Regions from separate parts of the Homo sapiens genome. Here region 1 is linked to region 2. Evidence: promoter capture Hi-C in 16 types of primary human blood cells and fetal thymus (Javierre and others, 2016). All regions are on one chromosome and are shown on one strand. Each heading gives the region's core, a stretch centred on a gene start or on the middle of the fragment in contact. The rest is flanking DNA. Distances are from core to core; before and after follow the strand shown.

The links. The method cuts DNA at HindIII sites, captures the fragments that hold promoters and counts their contacts. A CHiCAGO score of 5 or more calls a contact.
Region 1: a contact is called between a fragment that was not itself captured here and the fragment with the promoter of ADIRF in region 2, in 1 of 17 cell types (M2 macrophages). The highest score is 6.9, in M2 macrophages.

What each region holds. Positions count from the first base shown.
Region 1 is chr10:87,058,228-87,061,814 of GRCh38, forward strand. GLUD1 (glutamate dehydrogenase 1) reads right to left here. Exons shown (of 13, transcript NM_005271.5): 7 at 2,688-2,825; 8 at 2,461-2,598; 9 at 1,934-2,014; 10 at 923-1,046. Among named protein-coding and RNA genes, the nearest start is that of GLUD1, 35 kb to the right of the region's middle. The HindIII fragment of the contact is 5,304 bases long and covers 1-3,587 here.
Region 2 is chr10:86,966,973-86,970,279 of GRCh38, forward strand. ADIRF (adipogenesis regulatory factor) reads left to right here and starts at 1,510. Exons shown (of 3, transcript NM_006829.3): 1 at 1,510-1,633; 2 at 3,228-3,290. The coding sequence starts at 1,573. ADIRF-AS1 (ADIRF antisense RNA 1) reads right to left here. Exons shown (of 2, transcript NR_170185.1): 1 at 2,070-3,307. RefSeq lists enhancers at 1-196, 37-216, 197-949, 2,456-3,209, 3,210-3,307 and a silencer at 2,320-2,614. The HindIII fragment of the contact is 3,661 bases long and covers 656-3,307 here.

The sequences.
Region 1 (3,587 bases), core at 587-3,086, 92 kb after region 2:
AAAACACATTGCCAATTTCCTATATAAATGTGAATTTAGGTCACTGCTCTGTTTCCATAACACCCATTACCAGGGTTTTTCCTTGGCTCTATTAAAAAGAAAACGCTGGGGGAAAAAGAAAAGGAAATAGATGGAACACTTCACCCAGATTCTCACAGTGGGCTGAGTACAGAAGCTCAGTAGGAGGTCTTGGTCTTATTTCAACTAGATGAGAAATTCTACTCTTAACTGTGGAGCTTACTCTAGTCAAAGAAAAACAAGTATTCTCATCAGGAGTCTCAAAAACAATTCTTGACACTAGATAGGCCTTTACTAAGAGCAACCAGAGACAGAAATTAGTATCGACAGTGGAGTTTTAAAATCACACTTAAAAAAATATTATTGGCTGGGCACAGTGGCTCACGCCTGTAATCCCAGCACTTTGGGAGGCTGAGGCAGGCGGATCATGAGGTCAGGAGATCAAGGCTATCCTGGCCAACATGGTGAAACCCCGTCTCTATTAAAAATACAAAAATTAGCCGGGCGTGGCGGTGAGTGCCTGTAGCCCCAGCTACTTGGGAGGGTGAGGCAGGAGAATTGCTTGAACCTGGGAGGCGGAGGCTACAGTAAGCCGAGTTCGTGCCACTGCACTCCAGCCTCGGCGACGGAGCGAGACTCCCTCTCAAAAAAAGAAAAAAAAAATGTAGATTATATTCTGTGAATATTACATCACAGAATAAAACTCTGGATATAATATATGGGAGAGTTAATATCCAGAAAGACATTGTGCATTTTTGGTCTAAGTTTCATGAGACAAAATATTATTTTCTTTTCTGAGACTCAATTCTTTCCCAAAGGGATCAGTTCTCTTAAGTGGACCTTTTTACAGCCTTTCAGCTGGCTCAAAAGATGAGTTTTGGCGAACAAGATTATCGATACTCACTGAGCAAGTGGTAGTTAGAATCCCTTTCATATTTGAAGGTCAAACGGCCATAGCTGACATGATTTAGATTCTTCAGCCACTCAAAGTAAGATACTGTCACTCCTCCAGCATTCAAGTAGAGATCCTATGCACAAAAATAAGACAAAGAAATTAGAAGATGATGGTTTTCGTAAAAGCTGAAAATGAACCTAAGACCTTAATTTCAATACCAAGGTAGACTGGACTTTAAATATCGCAAATATATTTTAGCCAGTATCAGGAATTTCACACTTAATTAACACTCCTTCCCATCCCACCCAATTCCATCTAAGGCTTTTTCTATTTAGGAAAAAAAAAAAATCATTTTTTGGCTTATTAATCAAGGAAAGTTAATAATCTTTGGTTGGAGCCTCTTCTCTACCAGAAGTTAGTTCTCAGACTAAATGGCTTGCCCACCAACCAGTTGGACTGGACTGTCCACAGGGCCTCTCAGAAGACAGGATTCTTTCTCCTATTACCTAAGGGTAGCCCATTTCAGTTACATTAAATGTCTTAAGTGCTTTCAGCAAAGGGGGTTCTTTAAAATATATTCCAAGCCCACATTAATTTCTAGTAACTTTTTGGTGTAGACTCATTTTTACTTGCTAAAAAACCTGAGCACGTGTTCCTCATATTAGTTTTCTGAGTAAAGCTGGAAAGGGCACTTGAAATGCATAAGGTTAGGAATCATATAGAAAATCTTAAGAGCTTTAGTTAGAATAGTGTTTCTAACACAGTACACATTTATATAACCAGACTCTTAGAAGGCTAAAGACATTCAGTAAAGAGCCTGAAATTGGAATAAATGTTTCGATCAAAGTGAAAATTAACAGGCTTAGAATTAACCATGCTTCTACTATATTTTCTCAAAAGTGAAAAAGATGAATTCACTAGAGCTTGGAGACTAATAATTCCTCTCTTCCTCCAAATTCCTTGCAAAAGACTATTATGATTCTAAGTACATATAAAGCCTAATAAATATAGATGACTTACTGGAATAACCATAATGTTTCTCTCCAGGAAGATCTTGTCAGCTTCTGGAGTTGTTGGCCCATTGGCACCTTCAGCAATGATCTGCAAGAGAGTCAGGAACATAGAGAAATGCGAACACCACCGTCAAATCCCCTCCACTGAGGGCAAGAGATGTGCATATATGAACAAGGGGCTGTGGGGAGAAGCACAGTTTCAGTTAAAGTTAAATAGAGGTTATTTTTCTCTGCCAAGTGTATAAAACTACCTTTCACTTTTCTATTTATCTAGGTTTTTTTTTTGTTTGCTTGTTTTTTTTTTTTACAGGAGTGTCAGGCAGATGCGTTTGTTTTGGTAATGGTTGCACAACTCTGTGCCGGTAGCTAAAAGCCATTAAATTATGTACCTTAAATGGGGGAACTGTATGGTATGTGCAGTATGTGCCAATAAAGCTGCTAAAAAGAAAGAGAAAACTCAATCAGACTCTTCTATGACCCCCCTAACGTCATTCACATTGATAATGTTGGTTCTGGTTTCTATAATGTTGTCACCTTGGCTTTGACTCTGGGTGCGTTGGATTTGGTCAACTGCTTCTCACTGGCAGCTGGGATCAGTATGTCACAGTCGGCCTCCAAGATGCTTCCTTCATAGGGCTTTGCCTTGGGGAAGCCCAGAATGGACCCATGTTGCTGCCATTGATTGAAAATCACAATTAATAGCTGCACCAGAGTTTTAAATATTTATATTTAGTGTCTATGCTATAAAAATGTATTAATACCAATTTGAAGTCTTCCAGTTCCTTTGGGTCAATACCATCTGGATTCCATATACTCCCATCAGACTCACCAACAGCAATACATTTAGCACCAAAACGATGTAAATATCTCATAGAGTGTAGGCCCACATTACCAAATCCCTGTGAAGAACAATTACCCATAACACAAAAATTAAAGTCCTGGTATAGACAGCAAGAGTCATATTTTGACCAATGTAAATCCATACTCTGTTTATTTAGAAGCAATTCTCAAAATTCTTTTGCCAAAAGAAACAATGTACTAACTGGTTTCTCTTCAACAATAAAATTCTCTGTTTAAGAATGTGATGAGCGGGCATGGTGGCTCACGCTTGTAATTCCAGCACTTTGGGAGGCTGAGGCAGGTGGATCACTTGAGGTCAGGAGTTCGAGATCAGCCATGGCCAACATGGTGAAACCCCGTCTCTACTAAAAATACAAAAATTAGGCATGGGGTCCGTGCCTGTAATCCCAGCTACTTGGGAGAATGAGGTAGGAGAATCACTTGAACCTGGGAGGTGGAGGTTGCAGTGAGCCGAGACTGCACTCCAGCCTGGGCAATAGGGTGAGACTCCATCTCAATCAATCAATAAATGGCAGTGGTGTTAAGTACACCACCAGGTCCTCAGTCCTTGATGATCAGATGTCCTATGTTGTGAAAAGGGATGTCACTAATTTGGAGAAATACAATTTTTTTTTTTTTTTGAGACCGAGTCTCATTCTCTCACACAGGCTGGAGTGCAATGGCACAATCTTGGCTCACTGCAGCCTCTGCCTCCCGGGTTCAAGTGAGTCTCCTGCCTTAGTCTCCTGAGTAGTTGGGATTACAGGTGCCGCCATCATGCCCAGCTAATTTTTCTTTCTTTTTTTTTGAGACAGAGTCTG
Region 2 (3,307 bases), core at 260-2,759:
CATATGGCCGCTCCCAGGGCAAGGCCTCGCTCTGGGAGAGGAGGGGCGGGGGGCTGGGAGGACTGTTGCTGCCGCTTTGTTTTGCCTGAGACCTGCTCCCTCCCCCTTCCTCCACCTAATCTCATCACCTGCCTCTTCCCTTTGCCCAGGGTTGACCTCATCTCCATTAATCCATACCGTGTGTGTGTGTGTGTGTGTGTGTGTGTGTGTGTGTGTGTGTGTGTGTGTACAGGTGCACTTCCAAACAACTCCCTCTAGGGGCTGACCCCGCAGCACTAGAAGCAGGGTATGTGCCAGCAGACCAAGCCTGTGTGGCAGGGGCTTCCCAGCGCTCCAGAATAGGGGAGACACCAGCAGAGGTGCAAGAAACAGCCCCGGACAGGAAGCGGTAGAGAGACCCAGAAAGGCAGGGTGGGTGTGCACTGGCCTCCAGGTCCTGAAGGCCTACTCTGGAGTGGGAGTATACCCAGCTGGGTGGGGCCTGACCTACACCCCTTGTGTGCCAGGGGAATGTATCTTGCAAGCTGTTTTGCTGCACCCAAGGATGATCTTCTCCACTCAGGCCCAGGTCCCTAAGTCCCCTCCTAACAGCCACAAGTCATACTCTCTAGCGCCTTGCCTGCCCCATCTCAGGAAAGGTGACCTGAGAGGCCCAAGCTTATTCCTGCCCTCCCTGAGCCATGCTTCCTGCCCAACTTCCTAAGGCTTCGGTGACAGACGGCAATCTCCTTGCCTGGGCTGCACAGGCACACTGCCCTCTCCCCCTTGGGGTTGCATGGTCTGCAAGTGCACACACCTGTATCTCGCCCTCTCAGGGGAAAGATTTACCAGGCCCTCTCCGGCTGCATCCACTGGGTCTCTGGCTACAGGCAGAGAGCCAGTCAGCAGTGCCCCTGCAGCTGTTTGGGGCTGGGGGCTCCGATGATGCCAGAGCCCTAGGGTTTACAGGCACCTAGGCAGATTCGAGGATCCAAGTCCCTGCCACATGCGTTTGGGTGAGACCGACCTCACTGCCTCAGTTTCCTCCTATACACTGATGCTATCAACAAAAATACCCACTTCAGGAGGTGGTTGTAAAGATTATACAAGAGACTGCAGAGCGTTAGGCAGCACCTGGCACAAGACAAATGCTCAGTAAAAGACCACTGCTGTCATTAAGGTCAACACCAGCCCTGAGCTCCTGCCCTGGAGCTGACCCAGCGCTCACGCCCAGGATCAGAAAGGGAGGGCTGGGGCTGATGAGCTGGGAGGTGGTGTGCGCCCTTCTCCTGCCTCCAGCTCCTCTCTGGACCCCTGTCCTGGCACCTCTTCGGTCCCTGGTTCGGTCTGCCCCTTTCCCACCGCGGCCCGTCTTAGGCCAGGATGTGCTCCCTGCCCTGCGGACTCTGGAGCAGGGCCCGGCCACTCCCCGGAGCCTGTATGACGGGAACCGCCCCGCGCCCTCTCCCCTACGCGGGGCAGGCCAGCCCTGGGGCGCCTTAAAAACCGGAGCTGGCGCTTGGCATCGCCACTCTGGGCAGGATCCAACGTCGCTCCAGCTGCTCTTGACGACTCCACAGATACCCCGAAGCCATGGCAAGCAAGGGCTTGCAGGACCTGAAGCAACAGGTGGAGGGGACCGCCCAGGAAGCCGGTGAGGATAGCGCGCGACCTAGGGCTCAGGCAGGGGCACCTGCGTGGATGCGCAGGCAGAAGCAGCGGGTCGGCGCGGTCCGCAAGTTCCTGGACCGGCAGCTTGGCTCGGAAGGCTCGGTCCTCCACTGAGACGCAGGGGGCAGGCAGAACGCCCACCCCGGCGAGCAGACAGATGGTGCCCGCAGGGAGGCAGCGGAACAGAGGCTCCGGAGGAGCCGGAGCTGCGCTGCGGGCACTGCGGGAGCCCCTCCAAGGAGGCCATGCTGGCGCTGGGCGGCCCGCCCAGGCCCTCAGGAGAGGGTGAAGGTCCAGGACAGGGATCGGGCGCGGCCCGCCACCACTTAAACCCGCGCGCGCCACCAGAGGCTGCCCCAGACCTCAAAGGGCTTTGTTTCCATCCCACCCCCATCGCCGAAAAGTAATCGTCGCCTTACCTTTAAGTCCCCACCTGGCAAAGAAGGTCCTTAGTTCCTCCACCTCCAGCTCTCTCCTCCGTATTCTGGAGGTGACCCAGCTGCGGTGGGGGCGTGGGAGATGTCAGGAGACCACTGGGTTGGTTCTTCCTGCACCTAGCCCAGGCTTCGTTAGGACTCCAGCTCCCTGTCAGTCCTGCCCATATCCCAGTCAGGAGACAATATCCAAACCAACCCCTTACTTCACCAGTGCTCCAGGGGAGGCCCACAGTTCTTCCCTTGAGACTGAAATGCTACCAAGGAAGCCTCCGTGTCAGGTCCCTTCCTTCTGGGCTTCACTTTTCCATCTGAGAGCTGGGTGCAAAGGATGGGCTGCTTTCTGATGGGTTAATCGAGACGAGGTTCCCAGGGGCCTCTCAGCACACTTGCCTGACTAACCCTTTCCGGAGGATGGGATCTGGGTAAGGCAGGCCCTTTCCTGTTCAGCAGCAGGGATGAGTTACAGCTCTGTAGGCGGGAGCCACCTGTCAGCCCCCCCGGGGCTGGTGACTCCATTCCCAGCAGGCCGAAACTCTGGTCCAGAGGAGATAGTCCGGCCTTGGAAGTTTTGCCTCCTTCCTTCATTTGTCTCCTAATGTCTTAAGCTGCCTGTCCACAGAGGCACTGGCTTTGCTTGTGTGCCCCTCCGGGCAGGCCACAGGAGGGAGGAGGCAGTAAGGACCTGGCAAAACTGCAAGCCCCAGGGCTAAGTGCATGAAAGGTGGGAATTCAGGCATCTGGGCCAGGCTTCTAGGGGAGAAGCTGTAAAAGGGGGCAAGGGTCTTCTGCGCCATCACCAGCATTAGCCAACAGTCCAGATGCTAGCTGCAGCCTGGCCCTGCCCTGCCTTCCTTCCTCTGTCCAACATTTTCTCAGTAGCCCTGGAGATGGAAAGGGAAGCTCCTCCCCCACAGAGAAGGAGCTCAGAGTTAGAAATAAACAAAAACATCCCAGAGGCATGGAAAGGTCTCCTGCCCCTCGGGCTGGGGGGCCCTGGGCCAGGGACTTTATCTCCATGGCATCCATCCCTTGGACCTGTACCACCGAATACTCTGGAGGACACAGAGGCATGGCAATGGTGGGGCACCTGTAGTCGGTGGTGCCTCAACAGGGGCTAAAAGCCACATCTCTCTGTTCCAGTGTCAGCGGCCGGAGCGGCAGCTCAGCAAGTGGTGGACCAGGCCACAGAGGCGGGGCAGAAAGGTCTGGTGGGGCTGGAG